Regions from separate parts of the Homo sapiens genome. Here all the other regions are linked to region 1. The links are contacts of gene promoters, found by promoter capture Hi-C in blood cells and fetal thymus (Javierre and others, 2016). All regions are on one chromosome and are shown on one strand. Each heading gives the region's core, a stretch centred on a gene start or on the middle of the fragment in contact. The rest is flanking DNA. Distances are from core to core; before and after follow the strand shown. Region 1 holds the start of FMOD (fibromodulin). Region 2 holds the start of ZBED6 (zinc finger BED-type containing 6). Region 3 has its middle 16 kb from the start of LAX1. Region 4 holds the start of LINC00260 (long intergenic non-protein coding RNA 260). Region 5 overlaps ATP2B4 (ATPase plasma membrane Ca2+ transporting 4). Region 6 has its middle 5.2 kb from the start of ATP2B4.

Evidence for each region. Contacts are between HindIII fragments. The CHiCAGO score rates a contact against its expected background, and 5 or more counts as called.
Region 2: the fragment with the promoter of ZBED6 here is called in contact with the fragment with the promoter of FMOD in region 1 in 15 of 17 cell types (M2 macrophages, M1 macrophages, total B cells and 12 more); the score reaches 19.7 in M2 macrophages.
Region 3: a fragment that was not itself captured here is called in contact with the fragment with the promoter of FMOD in region 1 in 3 of 17 cell types (M1 macrophages, M2 macrophages and M0 macrophages); the score reaches 7.3 in M1 macrophages.
Region 4: a fragment that was not itself captured here is called in contact with the fragment with the promoter of FMOD in region 1 in 4 of 17 cell types (M2 macrophages, M1 macrophages, naive B cells and 1 more); the score reaches 7.9 in M2 macrophages.
Region 5: a contact is called between a fragment that was not itself captured here and the fragment with the promoter of FMOD in region 1, in 5 of 17 cell types (M1 macrophages, M2 macrophages, naive B cells and 2 more). The highest score is 9.5, in M1 macrophages.
Region 6: a contact is called between a fragment that was not itself captured here and the fragment with the promoter of FMOD in region 1, in 3 of 17 cell types (M1 macrophages, naive B cells and M2 macrophages). The highest score is 7.7, in M1 macrophages.

The regions. Positions count from the first base shown.
Region 1 is chr1:203,349,421-203,353,136 of GRCh38, reverse strand. It overlaps FMOD (fibromodulin), which reads left to right and starts at 2,015. Exons shown (of 3, transcript NM_002023.5): 1 at 2,015-2,104. The HindIII fragment of the contact is 3,247 bases long and covers 1-2,383 here.
Region 2 is chr1:203,793,548-203,797,263 of GRCh38, reverse strand. It overlaps ZBED6 (zinc finger BED-type containing 6), which reads right to left and starts at 1,641. Exons shown (of 17, transcript NM_001395895.1): 1 at 1-1,641. ZC3H11A (zinc finger CCCH-type containing 11A) reads right to left here and starts at 1,641. Exons shown (of 18, transcript NM_001376342.1): 1 at 1,470-1,641. RefSeq lists an enhancer at 1,521-1,940. The HindIII fragment of the contact is 5,182 bases long and covers 537-3,716 here.
Region 3 is chr1:203,747,814-203,751,529 of GRCh38, reverse strand. No RefSeq gene overlaps it. Among named protein-coding and RNA genes, the nearest start is that of LAX1, 16 kb to the left of the region's middle. The HindIII fragment of the contact is 2,291 bases long and covers 650-2,940 here.
Region 4 is chr1:203,730,420-203,734,135 of GRCh38, reverse strand. The region is part of intron 20 of ATP2B4 (ATPase plasma membrane Ca2+ transporting 4); the gene reads right to left. LINC00260 (long intergenic non-protein coding RNA 260) reads right to left here and starts at 3,559. Exons shown (of 1, transcript NR_046213.1): 1 at 2,283-3,559. The HindIII fragment of the contact is 2,506 bases long and covers 341-2,846 here.
Region 5 is chr1:203,683,427-203,687,142 of GRCh38, reverse strand. The region is part of intron 2 of ATP2B4 (ATPase plasma membrane Ca2+ transporting 4); the gene reads right to left. Among named protein-coding and RNA genes, the nearest start is that of SNORA77, 44 kb to the left of the region's middle. The HindIII fragment of the contact is 7,908 bases long and covers 1-3,716 here.
Region 6 is chr1:203,619,816-203,623,531 of GRCh38, reverse strand. No RefSeq gene overlaps it. Among named protein-coding and RNA genes, the nearest start is that of ATP2B4, 5.2 kb to the left of the region's middle. The HindIII fragment of the contact is 236 bases long and covers 2,027-2,262 here.

The DNA.
Region 1 (3,716 bases), core at 766-3,265:
TCCCTGACAAGGCCCTTTCTGACAGCCCACACGCTAAGTCAAAAGCTCAAACCTATTGGAGAAACCAAAAGGACCATCTGCCTCGACACTTCTAAATTCTTCAAATTCAAGTCATCTCAGGGTTTCTCAGTTGGTATTTTTTTAAGATAAAGGTGTTTCTTTGATGTTGGCATAAGCCAGTTAACATACTTGAGGAGAGAACATTTAGGACACATGAGTTTATCTAAGCTATTGAGATTCTGTGTGACCCACATTATAATGGTTCTCAAATGTTTTCTTCCAGCCCCTAAACTCCAGATTCAGATTCATATGTCCAACGGTCTACGTGCATCTCCAGGGGAATGCCTAGCAGGCATCTCTAACAGCATATCCAAAATGTAACTTTGGTTTTCTACCCAACTCAGTCCCACGTCACCTTTCCCATGTCAAGAAATGTTACCACCACCTACCCAGTTGCTCAAACTAAAATTCTAGGAATCATCCTTGACTTTTCCTAACTCTGCAAGACTTGTCAGTTCTCTGTCTAAAATATAAGATCTTCTCTTCCATTGCACCAGTCCAATCTGCCATTACCTCTCCTTGAGGCTGGGTTGGAGCCTCCCTGCTTCCACCCTGGCCTCCCCTTCTCCATACAGCAGCCCCTCCTACATGCTTTTAAAATGTAAATTAGATCCCATGCAAATCAGATCCCATGGCTTCTCCTGCTTGAAACATGTTTTTTTTTTTAAACATTTAGAATAGGCCGGACCGGATGACGCACGCCTGTAATCCCAGCACTTTGGGGCACTGAGGTGGGTGGATCACCTGTGTTTAGGAGTTCAAGACCAGCCTGACCAATATGATGAAACCCTGTCTCTACTAAAAATACAAAAAATTAGCTGGGCGTGGTGGCGTGTGCCTGTAGTCCCAGCTACCCAGGAGGCTGAGGCAGGAGAACGGCTTGAACCTGGGAGGCGGAGGTTGCAGAAAGCAGAGATTGTGCCACTGCACTCCAGCCTGGGCGACACAGCGAGACTCCTTTTCGATCTCCTGACCTCATGATCCTCCTGCCTCGGCCTCCCAAAGTGCTGGGATTACAGGCATGAGCCACCACGCCCAGCTGAGACTCCTTCTCAAACAAACAAACAACAACAACAACAACAAAAACATTTAGAATAAAAACCAAATCACTTCCATCGCCCAAAAGTCCTTTCATGGTACAGCTCCTGCCCAGCTTTCTGATCTTGTCTTTCCCTGGCTGAGGAATTCTATGGCTGTGAAATGGGTAGGACACAGTGAACCTCAGCTATGTGCCAGGTCAGGAGCCTCCCACACATCACCTGATACAGTCCTTGCTACAACCCAGCAAGGTAAGTGTTATTAACTCTGAATTTGTTGTGAGCATTAAGTGGAAGTGGATGATGCTAGTGCATAAGCAGTGATCAGCAAATGCTGGAGTCCCTGCCTTTCCTTTTGTTCCAGTGGTGGAGGTGGGCAGGACCTGTAGCCTAGAAAAGTCTACACTGCTTAGGGATAGAACTGGAACCAGAGCCGGCTGTCCCTTGTCATTCATGCTCCCTTATCCACTAGCCTGATGACCTGTCTATAGGGGGAGCTGAGAAGCGCGAGTTCTCGCTCTCTGGAGGGACATGTGGGTTGCTGAAGGAGTTAAGATGTCTCTTACCAAACCCTGGCCCTCCCCATCCCTGCATCTGCCTTTGTGGCTTTAATGAGAAATCCAGGCGCTTCATAAGAGACTGTACAAATAACTTCTAGGGCGCCACTAACTCATTCAGCAGAAAGGGACCCAGGGCTGCCAATGTTTCAGGGAAGATAAGTGAGTGGAAAAAAGGTGGTTTTTATAGCGTCAGGCGGACCGAAGGATTTGCGTGGTTGAGCGTGAACTCCGCCCCTGCAGCAGAGCTGAAAAAAACCAGGATCCGGGTTCCTCAGCCCCTTTTCACAATATTTGATTAGGAATTTGGGGCGGGACCCTGGTCTGGCACAGGCACGCACACTCTCAGTAGACTCTTTCACTCCTCTCTCTCTTCCTCTCTCACACGTTCTCCAACCCAAGGAGGCCAGACAGAGGGACGTGGTCACTCTCTGAAAAGTTCAACTTGAGGTAAGTATAGTCGTTTTACTTCGGGTTTGTCCCTAGCAGTTCCTTAAAAGAAATAAAGGAAAAGTGGTAGGGGATAGGGGAGATGGGGAGGCAGGGAGGGTTCATTCCTCCTTCTCCACATCTGGGCCATGACCCCAGGGATGCTGGAGAGTGGCAGAGAGGGTGTATAAGGGAGGGGTTCCAGCCCTGTACCTTTCTCTTACAGTTCCTTTATGGGTGCTGAGGGGACCTCCAATTCTCAGGCATGAAAAAGTGAAGGACCCTCTGTCTAGGGAAGCTTCTTCCCTGCTACTCATAAATCCCATCATGCTGGGAGTGTGGGCATTTTGAAGGGTATTCCAAGACCTGGATGTCCCTGCAATCTCTCTTATAGAGGGGTTTGGTACATAAATGCTATTATGGGAGAGGGGGAAACTTTTGTGTAGAATGTGTGTGTGTGTGTGTGTGTGTGTGTGTTTGGAGTGGAAAGGAGAGAATAAAAAGAAGCATTGAGAACTGGCCATGTCCAGGGAGCTGTGGATTGGGGTGGGGATGCAATCCAGGTGAGGGGATGGCCTCTGGCTTGACCTTCTCCACTGATAGGAGGGAGAGATCTTTCTCTAGAGTGGAGAAATGAAAGAACAGCAGTAGCTCCTGAGTAAACTTCCCCCAGCTGATAGTGTGGCAGTCCTGGAAACTTTCGACCTTACAGAAACTCTGAGCACAGGAGGGCCTCTAGCATTATGGGAAACAGTGTAAGACTATGCAACCCTGAAGCAACATTGCTAAGAGATGGGATGGGGTAAGGAGAGGCATAAGCTCCCCATCAAACCCTTTCAGCACCCATGGCTCTAAGAAGAGGCTGAAGTGGGCAGGGTGCACAGCCCCTAGAAAGCTGAGTCTGAAGGGGAAGGTGGCTCTTGTCTGCCAAGGTGCCCAGTCTGAAAGAAGGAGAAACGGAGACAGAGGCTCACTGTGCCAGCCCTCCAGACAGCCACCTTGGTCCTGCAACAGCCCAGGGCTGTGCATGGAAAAATGCTCTGTTGGCAGTGGGCCGCTCCATTCGTCTTCTCTCCTGGCCAGAGCCAGGAACCAGCCAGCTTGCCCAGGCAGTGGGCAGTTGGGTCAGCTTCTCCAAAACACTGTGGCTCTTTGTCTGAGGCCTGAGGCTGCCTGTGGATGAGCCAGGGTGCCTGCTCCTCTGCAACCTAGGAACTGATGGGATGAAGTGGGCCCAAGGAAACTGTTTTGAGGGGACAGAGAGGTCTGGGATGGATGGTGGTCAGGAGGTAACTCTGTTGAGTGTCATAGTTGGGGTCTTTCCCATCAGTTCACTGGATCTGATGATGTTGGCTTTTATACTCCTTTCTTTCTTCTGTTTACAGTTGCCAACCCCAGTAGGCCCAACAGCAATGTGAGGGCTGTATGTGACTCTTCCAGGCCAAGAAAGATTCTAAGGTTTCTCTGTCCAAGGGTGACACTCAGGAAGATGCCCACTGCTCACAGGAGTATGTCATGCATTGGCTATAGGTAACCAGGGTAGGGTACCCAGGCCACCCCTAGTCTCTTACCTTCCATACCTTTAGTTTCCCTCTCAGATGACATCAGACCCACATTTCCTCTTCAGTCTGCC
Region 2 (3,716 bases), core at 392-2,891, 440 kb before region 1:
TCCTCATGTTACAGAAGTAAGAACTGAGTCCCCCTTTCCCAGAGTCACAGAGTTGGTTAGTAGCAGCTAGAAGCCAGGTCTTCCAAATCCCAGATCCATGTTCTTCCTGCTTCATCAAGAACTATATCTACTTGAAATGCCTTCACCTTGTAAAATACATATTTTTATGATGCCTCATGATAGCGACATCAATTTCCCTTAATTCTGAAATTAACTATTTTCAGGAAATCTCATTTAAACAAAAACATAGTGCATCATTCAACATTCATCATTTAGGACTGTGATTTGCCAATACAACCCAAAAAGTCAATTCTGGAAAGCCAACACAGACTCCGCATACTGGTCACAGCAAATGCTAGTTGAGCCCTTTCAGTTCTAACTAAAAGTAATACAACCTTTTAAAATGTGAGTGGCTGGAAAAAAATGCTTTGAGAAAAAAATTTTAAAACAAGGTTAAATGCTGCATTTTCAAAGTACTGTTTGTATTAAGAGTTAATTCAAGTTTAGTTTTCAGATATTTTTAGACTTGAGAAGCTTTTACAGCCTGTAAGTAACTCACAAGTTGTACGCTATAGAGATAGCAAAAAGTGAAATATGAACTTTAAACCACTTCCATTTTTCGATTGATCCCTCCCCTTCCCCCAATACCTACATACATTTACCCTAAAAAGCATCGCTATCTCTAGTTCCACAGCCTCTTTCTCAAGGTCCAGAACCAAGGCCTGGAAGATGTCAACAATATAGGCCTTCCCCATAGGAATCCGCACCGATTATGGGAGTTTAGGGGTGTTCTTCATTACGGTTTCACCAGTCCTACAAGGAGAACGGAAGTGTCCCTGTTGCTCTTGACTCCGACGCTGAGGGCCAGGGGTGGGAGTGTAATGAGAGTGGGGAATGGGTGTAGGATACCGGAATAAGGTCGGTGGCTTTCTGTATGTGGAGTTTGAGACAAGCTCCAAAGTACCGGGACCCTGGAGAGGAATGAGAGTAGGTAAATTCAGCGCCCGGCACTCAGTCTGATTGATTTAGGCAGTGAGGGTCCGCTCAACTAGAGAAACTGTTGCCCCGAAGAAAGCAATCTAGTGTCAGTTCTCTCTTCGGGATTCGGGGGAACAGTCGGTTTTCGGGGCTGCTCCGGGCTCCTCGAGATTAGCGAACACCGGATGTGGGGGAGGGGAGGAAGGTTGGCTGGGAAAGGAGCAGGCGCCGTGGGGGTGGGGTGAACGGGGTGGGGGTGGGGAGGATGGGAAAAGTGAGCGGGAGCCTGGGGCTCCCAGCCAGCCCCGGCGAGGGCCGCGACCGGGAGGTGGGGGGGAGGGGTCGTTACGGCGAAGCTGAAGGATCCGCTCTGACTTCCCGGGATAGGCCGCGACCCAGGGGCGAGGGGAGGCCGCTGCCACTCCCCTCGCCCTCTCCCCCACCTCCCCGGCCCCAAGCCACCCGGGAATCAAAAAAACGGGTCTAGTTACCAGAGAACAGAAACTTTACCGAACCGATGACACTATCCCCGACTCCCGCTTGCTGCCACGTCTTTCTTCTTGCTTGGCCGCTGCCGTCCGTCGTCCTCCCAGCAGCAGCAGCACTAGCAGAAAACCAAGACTGCCAGCGTCAAAGATGGCGCCTGGCTACAGGCTCCGCTCTAAGGCCCGGCCGGTAAAAGTGCCAGCACGACGCAGGGCGCGAGGATTCTGGAAGATGTAGTTCCTCTATGAGGCGATGCCTAAGATGGCTGCTCCGGGTCACAGGGTCACGTGACGGGGGAGGCGCTGGGTCGGGGAGTCCCTTCCCTTCAGAGGAATGCCTCGAAGCCGGCTTTCATAACGTTTTGTTTTTGTTTTTAAATCAAATGAGGTAATAAGCGGGAGGGCCGCAGGAACTGAGACTGCCATTCAGTAAGCGCTCAATTTATTCTTACCAAAGTGTTTGCTTAATGAGTAAATCTCCCAAACCATGTATACATTTAATTTAGAAATAAACTGTACTTTTCCTAAGCATGCAATGTAGAATGATTTGTTAGTTTATTTTTTACTTGAAGAAGTGAGATTGGGCTTTGGGGGGGTGTTTCTTTGATTTCTTAAAGCAAATTTGTGTATTGGAAAAGTAATTCATGCTCGTGACAAAATTCAGGAGAGTTAGTTGGAGGTCGCAATCAGCAGTCTCATCCCTGCTTCATTATTAACATTGTCCCTTATTTTCCCTTTTGAATGTTTTTACTTTTTCCCCCGGTTATAAAAGTAATACACGTGGCCGGTGCGGTGGCTCACGACTGTAATTCCAGCACTTTGGGAGGCCTCGGCAGGCGGATCACAAGGTCAAGAGATCGAGACCATCCTGGTCAACATGGTGAAACCTCATCTTTACCAAAAATACAAAAATTAGCTAGGCGTGGTGGCACGCGCCTGTAGTCCCAACTACTCGAGAGGCTGAGGCAGGAGAATCGCTTGAATCTGGGAGGCAGAGGTTGCATTGAGCTGACATCGCACCACTGCACTCCAACCTGGCGACAGAGTAAGACTCCATCTCAAAAAAAAAAAAAAAAAAAAAAAGTAAAAAACTTAATACACGTAAGTTTTTTTAGAAACAATACAGAAATATAGAGAGTAGAAAGTTAAAATCTCTATTAATCTCATTCTTGAGAAATAGCTCTCATTAACTTACCATATATCCTTTCTGGCTTTTACACTGAAAATATACTTAAATATATTACACATATAATAGGAGCCCAAGGTCCCCCTGGGGTAGTGGCTCAGCAGAACTCTAATTAGGTGGCAACATTTTACCTAACTTGGGTAAAGGATATAGTTGTGCTACTAAGAAAGGAAACACTTGATGATAAAGCAGATGGGACTTCAGGCACCTTTTATTTCCTCGTGTGCTTGTTCTTCCAGCTGCCGGGTTGGTGATGTGCGAGTCCCAGGCAGCCCAAGACTAGGAATTTATCAGAGCAGAGGGGTCCTGAGCCTCCTCATATCTGGGCTTTTATCTCCTTTCAAAGTAAGAACCACAACTTTAGAATCTTAGCTCCAATCTCTGCCTTACGTGACAGTGCTCTGGCATTGCCATGTCAACAGACCTAATAAGCAAGTTCCTGGTAGCCAATTTCTTTTTTTCTTTCTTTTTCTTTTTCTTTTGTTTTGGTCTTCATTTTTTTGGTCTGTGTGACTCTTACTGGTAACCAATTTCTGTCTGTGCCACGACACCTAGGGTTTTTAAAATTTACCAGAGGGCTCTCCACATAGCTTAAGGGTTTTCCAACCTAGGACTCTCCAAGATGCAGTCCTGGCCTGACTAGTGTGCTATATAGAGTTTATAGTTATATTTCAGTAAACCTAAAGTATCATTGATTGTAAGATACACTTTTATTTTACAAGCCTCTAAGTGGAAGAAAAAAACCAACAACTGCCAATTAAACTGACAGGCCGGCCGGGCAGGGTGGCTCACACCTCTAATCCCAGCACTTTGGGAGGTTGTGGCGGGCGAACCACAAGGTCAGGAGTTCGAGACTAGCCTGGCCAACATGGTGAAATCCTGCCTCTACTAAAAATACAAAAATTAGCCCAGCACAGTGGCACGCATCTGTAATCCCAGCTACTTGGAGGCTGAGGCAAGAGAATTGCTTGATCCTGGGAGGTGGAGGTTGCAGTGAGCCAAGATCACGCCATTGCACTCCAGCCTAGGTGACAGGCTAGGAAAGGATGTACATCTTAGAATGAATG
Region 3 (3,716 bases), core at 546-3,045, 400 kb before region 1:
ATCTCAGCTACTCGGGAGGCTGAGGCAGGAGAATCCTGTGAACCCAGGAGGCAGAGGTTGTAGTGAGCCGAGATGGAGCCATTGCACTCCAGCCTGAGCAACAACAGCAAATCTCCCTCTGCAGGGGAAAAAAAAAAAAAGGAAACATATTTGCACTTTAGGGGTGTGGATAAATTTGTCTTTGTTGCAGATACAAGTGGCTGAGCCTGATGTGAAGCCTGCCGGCACATGTTCTGGTATGCAGTACACGTTCTATACACACACAATAATGCTACATTCCAGGGAGATAAAGCAATGAAAGAGAAATTTTATGTAGACATTCTTCAGTGGTTATTAATAGCAATTAGATGTGAGAGCAAGAATGGAAAGAGTGTCAGAGTTGGAAAGACCCTTAGGTTCCAGAGCAAGCTAGGTTCAGGGTCAGCATTACAACAGAGGCCTTCTAATTCCCAGACCAAGTTCTTTCCACGACACCTTGGATGAGACACCTCGCTTCTCCTCTCTGATTTTATGCCATTCCACTGGGTTAGATCTCTGCATTCCCAAACAACTGCTCTTTCCATCATAAATTTCAACGCAGAAGGTTATCATTCCACTGCAGAATCAGCTAGATAATAGTCTCAGCAGGCTAGACTACAGTCATTAAGCTTTGCTGAATTTTACCTGTGCATGCATTGATAATGGTAGTGGCAGATAATTGAGACAGGATCCAAGTTAGGCTTGCTTGTTTGCTTGAACACAATTTGTTATATTACCACTCAACTTTGGACTGTTTGTTTTGTTAATTACAATCATAGCATTTCAGAGTTGGCAGGGACTTTAAGGATGAACTAGGTTAGTGTTTTTTGTTTTTGTTTTTCTGAAATGGGATCTTGTTCTGTCACTCCAGCTGGAGTGGCCTCATCACAACTCACTGCTGCCTCAACCTCCTGGGTTCAAGTGATCCTTCCACCTCAGCCTTCTGAGTAGCTGGAACTATAGGTGTGCACCACCATGCTTGGCTAATTTTTAAAAATTAATTTTTTTTTTTGAGATGGAGTCTTGCTTTGTCACCCAGGCTGGAGTTCAGTGGCACAATCTTGGCTCACTACAACCCCTTTCGGGTTCAAGCAATTCTCTTGCTCAGCCTCCTGAGTAGCTGGGATTACAGGCGTCCACCACCATGCCCAGCTAATTTTTGTATTTTTAGTAGAGACGTGGTTTCGCTATGTTGGCCAGGCTGGTCTTGAACTCCTGACCTCAGGTGATCTGCCCACTTCGGCCTCCCAAAGTGCTGGGATTACAGGCGTGAGCCACCATGCCTGGCCAAAATTTTTAATAGAGATGAGGTTTCACTATGTTGCCTAGGCTGGTCTTGAACTTCTGGCCTAAATCCATCTTCCTGCTTTGACCTCTCAAAGTGCTGGGATTACAGGCCTGAGCCATTGCACCCAGCTGGTCAGTGTTTTAAAGTCATTTTTTAAAAGCTATAGCTGACCTGGAAGCCAATAACATTTTTTCTTTTTCTTTTTCTTTTTTTTTTGAGATGGAGTCTCACTCTGTCTCCCAGTCTGGGGTGCAGTGATGCAATCTCAGCTCACTGCAATCTCTGCCTCCTGGGTTCAAGCAATCCTCCAGCCTCAGCCTCCCAAGTACCTGAGACTATAGGCATGTGCCACCACGCCTGGCTAATTTTTTTTTTTAGTAGAAACAGGGTTTCACCATGTTGGCCAGGCTGGTCTCGAACTCCTGACCTCAAGTGATGTACCCGCCTCGGCCTCCCAAAGAACTAGGATTACAGGTGTGAGCCACCGTGCCTGGCCCAAAAACGTTTTAAAAATGTGCTATTTTTGTTGAACGCCTGTCGACCCTAAATTATCTCTCAGGAGTTCCTTTCTGATCTTCAAAATGTAATTTGAAAATGATGTACTTTAATGATCTCCTTGTACACATGGGAAATCAAGCTGGTCAAGAAGCAGAGTTGAGGTCAGGGCATGTGTCTCCTGCCTTCCAATCAGCTGCACATCAGAATCTTACTCTAATTTTGCCATTTTAGCTCCTCGATCAAAGAGTAAGCAGAGAAACATTTAAACGCCTTCCTTTCCTACCCGGTCAGCAGCAGCAGCTCAATTCAAAAGGTTTGATAGGAAAGATGTAGGAATTCTCTCTTTTTTTTTTTTTTTCGGAAAGAGAGTCTTGCTGTGTTGCCCAGGCTGGAGTGCAGTGGCATGATCTCGGCTCACTGCAACCTCCACCTCTCACGTTCAAGTGATTCTGCTGCCTCAGCCTCCTGAGTAGTTGGGATTACAGGTGCCTGTCACCACGACTGGCTAAGTTTTTGTATTTTTAGTAGATACAGGGTATTGCCATGTTGCCCAGGCTGGTTTTGAACTCCTGAGCTCAGGCAATCTGCCTGCCTTGGCCTCCCAAAGTGCTGGGATTACAGGCATGAGCCACTGCGCCCAGCAGGAATTTTTTATTTTTATTTTTATTATTTATTTATTTATTTATTTATTGAGACAGGATCTATCTTTGTAACCCAGGCTGGAGTGCAGTTGTGCAATCTCAGCTCACTGCAACCTCCGCCTCCTGGGTTCAAGTGATCCTCTCACCTCAGCCTTCAGAGAAGCTGGGATTACAGGCATGAGCCACCATGCCCAGCTAATTTTTGTAAGTTTAGTAGAGATGAGGTTTCACCATGTTGGCCAGGCTGGTCAGATGCAGGAATTCTTGACTTAAATAAAGGGTTTTGGATGATCATGGATATATTTGTTCTTCTCTTAAGCATGGTTAAAGGCAATCTGTAGGTACCAGTCCAGCTCTTCCCAGCCTTACTCCCTCTTTCAAATGAGTTATCATATATACTTGCTTTAAATAGGTGAAGACATGAAGATCTGGAGTTATAAAACACAAATCAGTCTTTCAATGCAGTCTTCCTGGGTCTAGCATAGCAAGAAAGCTTAAATCAATTGTGCTGTGTTTGGAAAAAGAATGTGCTAAAAGGAGATGGTCTATATGTCCTCTGTTATAGGAGACACCAGAGAAATCAAGTGATGCTTAAGCTTGAACACAGGGCCCAGTTCTATTCTAAAGTAGAGACAGGCCAGGCATGGTGGCTCATGCCTGTAATCCCAACATTTGGGAGGCTGAGGTGGGAGGATAGTTTGGGGCCAGGTGATTGACTCCAGCTTGAACAACATAGTAAGACTCCATCTCTTAAAAAAAATTACAGGCATGGTGGTGCATGCCTGTAGTCTCAGCTACTTGGAAGGCTAAGATGGAAGGATAACTTGAGCCGAGTCTAAGGCTGCAGTAAGCCTTGGTCATGCCACTGCTCTCCAGCCTGGGTGACAGAGCAAGACCCTGTCTCAAAAACAAAAAAAGGAGTAGGGACAGATATATGCCCTGTGAGTGTAATGGCACTAGCCACTCAGACAGTTCTATTATTTCCCCTTTGCGTAGAGTTCATGAGCAGAAGTTAAATTTCTGATTGTAATCTGGCTATCCAAATATGTAGATTATTTCAATTCTTTTTTTTTTTTTTTTTTGAGATGGAGCCTTGCTCTGTCACCTATGTTGGAAGGCTGGAGTGCAGTGGCGTGATCTTGGCTCACTACAACCTCCGCCTCCTGGGTTCAAGGGATTCTTCTGCTTCAGCCTCCCGGGTAGCTGGTATTACAGGTGCACACCACCACGCTCAGCTAATTTTTGTATTTTTAGTAGAGACAGGGTTTCAC
Region 4 (3,716 bases), core at 344-2,843, 380 kb before region 1:
TAGAGACGGGGTTTCACCATGTTAGCCAGGATGGTCTTGATCTCCTGACCTCGTGATCTGCTTTGGCCTCCCAAAGTGTTGGGATTACAGGCGTGAGCCATCGTGCCCAGCCAGCTACAACTTTTATGCTAAAATTGCCAGTCAGCAATACAGTGGTGGCCAAATGGACTATTATTATTGACCAAGTTTAATACTGGCTCAATTATGACAGGTCCACTAGTCAAAACACACCCATGGGCACATTAGCTCCCTTCCTACCTTTCCTCAAAAGATCCCAAACTTTGCCCCCATGTAAAGAAAGCTCTTGGGTTTTCCTCTGGCCTAACCTCACATCTAAGCTTAGGAGGTAGAGTTCAGACTCAAAGGAGCAGGAGGAGAAGAGAGGAACAACAACATATCCCAGCAAAGCAACAAACAGACAAACAAAAAAGGCAAAGCAAAACAAAACAAAACTCAAGAAAAGGAAGAAATGAGCAATGCAGAGGAACAATCAGAAAACAGAATTATTGTCTTTAAAACAGTTAAGGTTTAATAGCTTTTCTACATTACAAAAATAAAATACAAGGGCACACAGTCTGGTTTTAGAGTAGGATTTTTGTCTTTTTCTTCCCTTAAGTCAAAATATCAAAGGGAAAAACCAAAAGGAAAAGATAACCATGGTTGGTTAAAGTGGATGCCACGTGCTCTCTTGTGGTCATTTTAGCAAATCATGCATCATAATAGACTATCACTCACTGCCCATAGGAGGAGATGAAACAGCAGGAACAGAAGTGGTGGGGGAAGATTTGACTGGTGCAACTGCTACATAGGATGAACTAGGAACAAGTTTTACATCAAGGTGTTGACCCATGTTCTGTCGCCTTAGGACTCCCTTAAAAGAGGCTCCCGTCTGGAATGTGTTAATTACGTCGATCTGCAAAGAATCAGAGAGTGAGACAGCTTTGCTCCACAGTCAGTCCGAGAGAGGTGAAGAAAGAGGAAGGGAGGGTCATGGAAGGTTGGGGAAGCAGGAATGGAAGTAGATGGGAAAAGGGGACAGGAGAGAGCAAGAGAGAGCTTCCCTCCCACAAAAAGCAATGGTGAGGAGAAGGAGAAAAACGTTAATTGCATATCATACTTCACTTAGGGAACAATTTGCCATGGAGTCCCAACGCCCAGCCAGAATCTAGTTTTTTCTTCCCTTTGAATCCACAGTGGGCATTTGAGGTTTAGAGGGGGCCAAGAGTATTTAAAATGTAAAGGGACTTTTCCCTACTCCATCACTCCTAACAGCTAGACAGCGATTGTTCGTTGTTTTTACCTGTACTTTTTTTTTTTTTTTGAGATGGAATCTCAATCTGTCGCCCAGGCTGGAGTGCAGTGGCACACTCTCGGTTCACTGCAACCTCCACCTACAGGCCCCTTTTTACCTGTACTCTTAAAAATAAGGCAAACAATTGAAGATTCTGAAGGCAAATTATGTATTACTGAATTTGAAGGCTCAGGAACCTCTAAATCAATTAAACCGACTACGTATTTTTGCGGATTTTCCAGGAAAATAACTCATGTGTTTAAATAAAAAACAGGGGCCATTTAGTAGCCAATATACAAATGGCCATGATGGAAAGACCCCTGGGCCATGAGTTGCTGGGCTCATCCTCCTCTGGGTATCTTGTCTGAGCTATCCCTTCCCTGGGCTGAAGTAGGTAGGCTCCCTGAGAATGGAGCTCAAGAACCCAGTGGCCAAGCCCACTATCGAGAATGCTACTAAGTGCATTAATGCATTAGAGATCTGAAATGTCTGGCAGAAATGCTGACAGTAACTCGGCAATTAGACTGAGGGAGGGGGAGGAAGAGGTTTTGGTTGGTGGTGGTTGAAACAGCTACAGGTCGAGGCTTACACAAGTAGCCTCTGGTTTTCAGTGCCCTGTTCCTCAGAGACAGAGGCAATTAATGCCATTCATTTTCTTCCTTCCTTCCTTTTTTTTTTTTTTTTTTTGACACCCAGGCTGGAGTGCAAGGTGCGATCTCGGCTCACTGCAAGCTCCGCCTCCCGGGTTCACGCCATTCTCCTGCCTCAGCCTCCTGAGTAGCTGGGACTACAGGCACCCGCCACCAGGCTGGCTAATTTTTTATATTTTAAGTAGTGACAGGGTTTCACTGTGTTAGCCAGGATGGTCTCAATCTCCTGACCTCGTGATCCGCCGGTCTTGGCCTCCCAAAGTGCTGGGATTACAGGCGTGAGCCACTGTGCCCAGCTTCCTTCCTTCCTTCCTCCCTCCTTCCTTTTTTTTTTTTTTTTTTTTTGAGACAGAGTCTCGCTCTGTCACCCAGGCTGGAGTGCAATGGCACGATCTTGGCTCACTGCAACCTCCATCTGCTGGGTTCAAGCCATTCTCCTGCCTCAGCCTCCTGAGTAGCAGGGACTACACGTACCTGCCACCATGCCCAGCTAATTTTTTTATTTTTAGTAGAGACAGAGTTTCACCATGCTGGCCAGGCTGGTCTCGAACTCCTGACCTTGTGATTTGCCTTCCTCAGCCTCCCAAAGTGCTGGGATTAAGGTGTGAGCCACCGCGCCCGGCCATGCCATTCATTTTCTGACAATGGTCCTGATCTAGGGCCTCAATCAACTCTACCATCCTTATCCCTGACCCCTAAGTAACAAGGACAAAATCAAAAGGAATTCCCTTTAGCCTTCATGAATCTGGTAGAATAATCTTAGAAATATCTATCTGCTTAATGCCAAGGGTTAATCTACCAGGAATGAAGGAAAGGTGCTGATTCCATTAACTGGACTTCATTTTCCCAGGAGGGAAGATGGGAAAGTAGGCAGAATGTGAGTGAGACAGTCCTTTTATAAAGCTTCCTGAGAAGCCATGAGCTGTTTAGGGCTAGTTTCTGGATCCAGATCACAGTTTGAGCAGAAACATCACTGCTTCCTCACATTATTCAGTTTTAGTTCCCTGGGACTGAGGAGCTTGAACCTGCAGGAGGAGAGGGTTTACACTTGGGGTGGGTGCGGGGGTTCCAGCTCCATGGAAGAAGGGACTGTAGAGACACCTTCTTCAGTGCTTATTGGAGTTACAAGGTCCCAACCTCCACAATTCTAGTCTCTAAGTTTTCTAACACCTCCCATACCAAAGCACTGCGATGAGAATGACAACAAAGATCAACGTGGAGGTGGCAGGGGGTTTTGTTAGAACCCAGCTGAGGCTGAAGGGCTGATGTTGGGAGCGGACCTCAGGGATCCAGGATACACGTTAGCATCATTAGCCTCATCAGCTTCCAGAGTCAGGTGCATCCTGGATGGCGTGAATTTGGTCACTGTGGCATCTTGAACATGCCTCACTTTAGGCTTTAATGCCATTTTGGCCCAACTGCCTCATGCTCCAACAATGCGGAAAGGTAGTATACCTAAAGCTATGTAGGCAGTGAAACCAAAAAGACCTTGTAGAGAGGGGCATAGTCAAGGAAATAGAAATTGGTAGTGGAGGGCAAGGAAGACCCATAAATCTCAGCCTCCCAGGACAGAAGACTGGAAAGGAGCAAGGAGGTACTGGACTGAGGGAATCTTGGCTAGGAGAAAAGAAATCACATAGTAGAAGTGGTTGATCCTGAAGAAAAACAAAGCAAAGACAGGTTATTTTGGAAAGAGCAGACCCAAAGGAAAGCACTGGGGGCTTTAGAGATGGGAGCCAAAGGCGCCAGGTTCTATGGGTACTTGGAGTCAGCAG
Region 5 (3,716 bases), core at 668-3,167, 330 kb before region 1:
CCCCAGTTCCAGAACAAGCCCTATGGTAACTCTTACATTACTACAAACTGGTGAGGCAGAAGAACTGCTTGAGTCCAGGAGTTTGAGACCAGTCTGGGCAACAGAGCAAGACCCCATCTCTCATAAAGAAAAAAAAAAAAAAAAAAAAGGCCAGATGCCATGGCTCACGCCTGTAATCCCAGCACTTTGGTAGGCCGAGGTGGATGGATCACCTGAGGTCAGGAGTTCGAGACCAGCCTGGCCAACATGATGAAACCCCGTCTCTACTAAAAATACAAAAAACTAGCTGGGAGTGGTGGCGTGCACCTGTAATCCTAGCTACTTGGGAGTCTGAAGCAGGAGAATTGCTTGAACCCAGGAGGCGGAGGTTGTAGTGAGCCAATATCGCGCCATTACACTCCAGCTTGGGCAACAAAAGCAAAACTCCTTCTAAAAAAAAAAAAAAAAAAAAAAAAAAGAAAGAAAAGAAAGAAAAACACCAGGACACATATTTGTGATCTAAGGAAGCAGTACATGGCAGTAGAAAATTGTGCCAGTGTTAGGAGTCCTAGGCTACAGGCATGGCCAGGGGCTGTAACGAGGGAAGCACTTGCCATTGGAAGGGGCTGAAACCAGGACTGGGAAAGGATCCAAGAGCATTAGCTATGTCTATAACATTTGATATCCAATGTTGACAGAAAGTAGAATATATGTTGGCCTTTGGGAAAGGAAGCTCTCTGGGAATCAGAAAGTAAACAGTGGCAGCTCTGGGAAGGGATCTGGAAAATTGGAGGAAAGCCTGAATCCTGCTGTCAGGAGTTCTCTAGGTTCCAGCTTCTTTGGACTCCCGAGTTCCTGTTTGTGAGACAGACAGCTGACCAGAGGGATCAAGAACAGCATAGGAAGGGAAAAAGAAAGATCCTGTTTAAATTCTGATGGGTGTTTGTAAAGTACTGCATAATCTCAGTGAAGATATAATTAAGAACAGACCCTCAGCAGTCAGTACGGCTGTAAAAGTGACTGAATAAAGAAATCTAGCTGGCAAGAAGTAGACAGAGCCCAAAGGGGTATGATTAAGGACTACCATTAGAAGGCAAAGACTGAGCCACATGAAAGCAATTAGATATTGCCACCTTACCCAGGGTTTTTTTTTTTTTTGTGATTAAGAAGTGAGCAAATGAAATGGACAGTAGTTGCAGTTACACACACAGTAACCTCTCCAGATAGGACAAAACATTGCACTCCATAGGCACCCATGTTCTGGCAAGTATCTACAGATGCATGGACTCTGTTTTAATCTGAGAAAACTAATCTATTGAACACCTAATTATAAGTATGAGCACTGTATATGTATTATTTAATCTCAGTAACTCTATGGGCTAGGTGTTATTAACATTATTTTCAAAGAAGAAACAGACTCAGGGAGGCTGAGTAAACTGTAGAGGGCTACTTAGTTAGTAAATGGTGGAGCTATCATTTGAACTCAAAGCCTATGAGATAGGAAACCAAATTCTAGAAGTAAAGAAAACAGGTAGGGAAGCTCCCTTAGGTTGTAAAGAAAATAAGACATAAACTAGGTATAGATATCTATGTAAAACTCTCTTTCTCTTTTTTCATCCTAAAGAGTCTAGGCTCCAAGTCACTAACTTATAATACAGCACTGGCAAAGGGTAACAACTTCTTAGAATTGGTGAGAAATATGCTGTGGCCTCTGAGGAAGATTCAGAAATAGGAGACCACATGAGACTGAAAGCCCCTAATGGACAAGATCTTTGCTCCATCTCATGCTACTCAACCATGAACTGCCAGATGTATAGGGCCAAGTAAGAATCTGCTACAGAGATGCTAAAACCAGACTAAAGTGAAAAAGCAAGTTTCCTTTTGTTCTTTCTACATTTTGATGAGGCAAAATTTCATAATACCATGGCACACTGGGCAACTGGGCTGGGCCAAAGCCTGAAGCTGAATTTTTCATTATCTTTTAAGTTTTTTTAGCTTTTAAGAAGAGATTAAGGCCGGGCGCAGTGGCTCATACCTGTAATCCCAGCACTTTGGGAGGTTGAGGTGAGCGGATCACCTGAGGTCAGGAGTTTGAGACCAGTGTGGTCAAAATGGTGAAACTCCATCTCTACTAAAAATACAAAATTAGCCACATGCCTGTAACCCCAGCTACTCAGGAGGCTGAAGCAGGATAATTGCTTGAATCCAGGAGGTGGAGGTTGCAGTGAGCCAAGATTGCACCATTGCACTCCAGCCTGCCTGGGCAACAAGAGTGAGACTCCTTCTCAAAACAAAAAAACCAAAAAAACAAAAAACAAAACAAACAAAAAAGATTAAGGAGAACTACATTAAAAGTGTATCCAGCAGAGTTGAAAAAAAATCACTTATAATTCCCTGACACAAAACAGTGAGTGATCCAAAGATATGATGGGTACAGTTATATACCTTGTGATTTAGCATCCCATTTCCTTTTTTTTTTCTTTTTATTTAAAATAGAGGCTGGGCGTGGTGGCTTATGCCTGTAAGCCTCCTCATCCCAACACTTTGGGAGGCCAAGGCAGGCAGATCACCTGAGGTCAGGAGTTCGAGACCAGCCTGACCCACAGGGTGAAATCCCATCTCTACTAAAATACAAAAAATTAGCTGGGCGTGGTGGTGCACACACCTGTAGTCCCAACTGCCTAGGAGGCTGAGGCATGAGAATTGCTTGAACCTGGGAGGCGGAGGTTGCAGTTAGCTAAGATCATTCCACTGCACTCCAGCCTGGGTGACACAGCAAGACTCTGTCTCCAAAAAAAAAAAAAAAAAAATAGAGATGGGGTGTTATTATGTCACCCAGGCTGGTCTGGAACTCCTGGGCTCAAGTGATCCTCTCACCTCAGCCTGCCAAAATGCTGGGATTAGAGATGTGAGCCACCCACCTGCTTGGCCTATCATCCCATTTCTAACAGTATACAATAGAGAAGTGCTCAATTGGGCAGCTGGACTTATTCACTTTTTTGTACCCTTCCTTCCTCCATTCATTAAACTGTAAGATCAGTGTAGGGAAGAATTAAATTATTTTATAATCAGACATATAGAAGAACAGACTTGATTATTTACTGACAACAACATTTATAACATAAACATTTTAAAAATAAATATCCTCCTTTCTGGACACTGATACAGAAAAAGGAGAAAAGAGGGGTCAGGAGCAGTGGCTCACTGTGCCTGTAATCCCAACACTTTGGGAGGCCAAGGTGGAAGAATCACTTAAGTCCAGGAGTTTGAGATGAGTCTAGGCAAGATACTGAGACCTCAACTCTACAAAAAAATCTAAAAAGCTAGCTGGGTGTGATGGCACACACCTGTGGTCCTAGCTACCCAGCAGACTGAGGTAGGAAGATGGCTTCAGCCCAGGAGGTTGAGGCTGCAGTGAGCCATGATCACGCCACTGCACTCCAGCCTGGGTAAAAGAGCAGGACCCTGTCTCACCAAAAAAAAAAAAAAAAAAAAAAGAAACAAAAGAAGAAGAAAGAAAGAAAAGAAAAAGGAGAAAAGAATAATCTTTAGAGAATAGCACACTTTCTAAACATCATCTCTGGGAAAGATACAGTTCTTCATGGCCTGCCCTCCTTTCAGTGCTTCAGATGCCATACCTTTCCCACCAGACAAAAATATACCAGCTGGGCCTCCAGAAATGTGCCTTCTCTAGAAGCTGGGAAAACAATATTTTGAAACACTAGCCACCTTCCTCC
Region 6 (3,716 bases), core at 895-3,394, 270 kb before region 1:
CTCAAGCTCCCTGGATTCCAGGGAGACAGGCTCTGCCAGGGAGGTGCTGTCAAAAGAGGCTCTGATGGCTGTCCCACATCTGGCTGGCTAGGATTCAGGGGCAGGCCAGGTTTATGACTTCCAGGGTGGCTGTAGATCCTCCCCTTGACCGGCTGTGGGGTTGTGGGATGAGAAAAAAGGAATCCCCCTCCCACTCCATTCCCACCCCAGCTCTGCTGCAGACAGGAGGGAGGGATGTCGGGGGGTGGGTCAATGTGACCCCAGAGGAGCCGAGGGGACCATAGCCTGATCTCTGTCACTGAGCTGACCACTGAGGCCTGTGTTTTCTGGAAAGCTAGAAGCCTCAGTGCTTCGCTTCTTGCAGCGGCAGGTTTGAGGTCTAGAACGGGTAAAAATAAATCTATCCATAAAAATAACCACTAGATGTGGGAAAATGGAGTTGGCCCCCCTGGGGCAAGAAGGAGGACACTGCCTCTGGCATCAGAAGTTCATAGTCTGCCTGTTCTGCTCAGCTCTGAGCAGTCCTGTTTCCCTCTTCTCCCTGCTGTACTCTTGACTTTACAGGTTCCTGTTCTTTAGATCTAGCCTGGCTCTCCTCAGCCTCCTGAACTCCCCATAGCAGGTCAGTCTCTACAGGGCTTACATCACTGTGGACCCTGTCCCTACCCCATCTCTCACTTGAGGAAAATGCAGTCAGCACTGTCTCTCACTTAGGTGTTTAACAGAATGTGTTCCTCTGCCTCTTGATGACTCCACCTTGAGTTTTCCAAATCTTCCTCACCATTTCCTGTACCTCCCCCGAATGCAGACTGCATGACTCCCTGTTGTGAATATCTACCATTTTGCCTTGGCTAGAACAGCAGCCATTTTCCCCATGCCCGAACCCAGTTCTTTGGGACGTCCTTTCTTCTCACTGTTAAGATGGAAACTGGGCCAGGCATGGTGGCTCATGCCTGTAATCCCAGCACTTTGAGAGGCCGAGGTGGTTGGATCACTTGAGGTCAGGAGTTCAAGACCAGCCTGGGCAACATGGTGAAACCCCGTCTCTACCAAAAATACAAAACTTAGCTGGCACGGTGGTGCGCGCCTGTAGTCCCAGCTACTCGGGAGACTGAGGCAGGAGAATCGCTTGAAACCAGGTGATGGAGGTTGCAGTGAGCTGAGATTGCACCACTGTACTCCAGCCTGGGTGACAGAGTGAGACTCTGTATCAGTAAATAAATACATAAATAAAAATACAAAAAAAAATCACTGGGCATGCCTGTAATTCCAGGTACTCAGGAGGCTGAGGCCCGAGAATCACTTGAACCCCAGAGGCTGAGGTTGCAGTGAGCTGAGATCGTGCCACTGTACTCCAGCTTGGGTGACAGAGTGAGACTCCATCTCAAAACAAAACAAAACAAAACAAAAAACAACAATTGAAACTGACATTTTATTAGCAGTCCTAACCCCACCTGACCCAAGCTGAGCCAATTACATCCTTTCCTGAGAGTTTTGCACTTACGATTAAACAGAAAACAAGGCTTGGTCCCTGCTGTGACTACTGTGAAGAGATACTCTGGAAGTATCAGAGGTCAAGTATCTTATACTCTGGAAGTATCAGGGGTCAAGTTCCCTGCCCCATGGAAGAAGCCTGCAATAAAAAAGAATACAGCTCGCATGCAAGAGAGGCAGACGAGAAAGCTAAGGAGTGAGTGCCAGCAGCACTGGAGTTCGTTGTACCTCATATCCCACTGTACCCCTGCCTTTCCTACAAATGAGTTACATGACTCATTGTGCATGCCTACGCTAGATGAAACTAGGTTTTTTGGTCACTTGTACTAAGTAATGTAGAAATGTAGTGTAGAAAGTAATATAGAAAGTCTTTGAGCTACTAGCTACCATTTAGATTCAGTCATTTCTGTGCATTTTATTCATTCAGTTAAGTATCTCTGAACACCTACTATTCAATTTAGCATACATTTATTGAATGTCTACTGTTTCAACATCTACTGGGCCCAGATGAGGTATACAGAGGTAATAAGCTTATAGTTTAGTAGAAGGAAAAGATGCTTTCATAGCATGAGTAGCTACAATCAAAGATGCTATAATCTTTTAAATGTATTTACTGAATGCTTACTATGTGCTAGGTAGTACATATTAAAAGATGAAATATAAAATGCTAGGAAATGCTAGGGAGTGATTGCCTCAGATGGGAATATTAGAAGGCTCTAGGAAGGAGATAATATTTGCAAGTACCTGAAAAATCTTGAAAAGCAAGCTTTAAACTGTTTTGGATGGAGGCGGGGTTAGGGTGGGACATGAGCAAAGGTCTGGAGGTAGAAAGAATAGAGAACGAGGTGGGTGGGTTGCCTGAGGCCAGGAGTTCAAGCCTGGCCTGGGCAACATGGCAAAACCCCATCTCTAGTAAAAAAATTAGCTGGGTGTAGTGGTACACACCTGTAATCCCAGCTACTTGGGAGGCTGAGGCACAAGAATAGTTTGAACCCAGGAGGCAGAGTTTGCGGTGAGCCGAGATTGCACCACTGCACTCCAGTCTGGGTGACAGAGTGATAGTCTGTCTCAAAAAAAAAAAAAAAAGAAAAAAAAAAAGAAAAAGAAAAAAGAAAAAAGAGTAGAGGAGAAAGACTGGGGAGGTAGTTTGAGTTCAGTCAATGGAGGGCCCTGAGTGGCCTCACTGGGTCTGTGTTTAGTAAGCTGGCTGTGGCAGTAGTGTGTAGGGTAGACTGCAAGCCTAAAGATGGTGGGAGGGATAATCCAGGCACAATGCATTACTAGGCAGTGTTATGGAACATAGTGATATGTAACATAGTCCCTGCCTTCCAGAAGCCTCTAATCTGGTTGTGGAGATATATAAAGCAGATAACAACAGAATAAAGTATATGCTGAAGTCTAAAACTTTGTTCCAGGTGAAAAACCCAGTGAAAGTTTAGCGAAGGAAAGCTGAAGATGGGCTGGAAGCTTTGCAGAAGGCTTCTTAGAGTTGGTGAGACTCCAGTTGGACTTTTCGATTATTTCTAATGCTTTTCTTTCTACCTCCTTGCAGAGCAGGCCTGGTGATGGCTGCAGGGTAGACAGATGTATTTATCTGAGTAACTTCTGCCCCCATGTCCTTTGTCTATCCTTATTATACAAAACCCAGGGCAAGGGTTCTAATGGGGAAGAAACTGGATCCAGGAAGACCCACTGAGCTCCAGCTAAGGGACTGGGGGCATGAACGCTAGGCAGAGATACCAAGGCAGAAGTCCTTGGACTTGGCTTAGGTCAAGATGGCAGGAGATCAGAGAAGGCTGCTAGATGGAGACACAGATAGCCAGGGTTTACCCTCCAAGACATTCTCATGTACAATCAAAACAACTAATTCTCTGGCTGGGCGTGGTGGCTCACGCCTGTAATCCCAGCACTTTGGAAGATGAAAGTGGGCAGATCACTTGAGGTCAGGAGTTCGAGATCAGCCTGGCCAGCACAGCAAAACCCCGTCTCTACTAAAAATACAAAAAAATTATCTGGGCATGGTTGCATACGCCTGTAATCACAGCTACTCAGGAGGCTGAGTTCAAGCCTCCCATTCAAGCGGGAATTGCTTGAACCCAGGAGGCGAAAGTTGCAGTGAGTGGAGATCGCGCCACTGCACTCCGGCATGGGCGACAGACTGAGACTCAGTCTCAAAAACAAGACCAAAAACGAAAAACAACAACTAATTCTCAAGTTCAGAT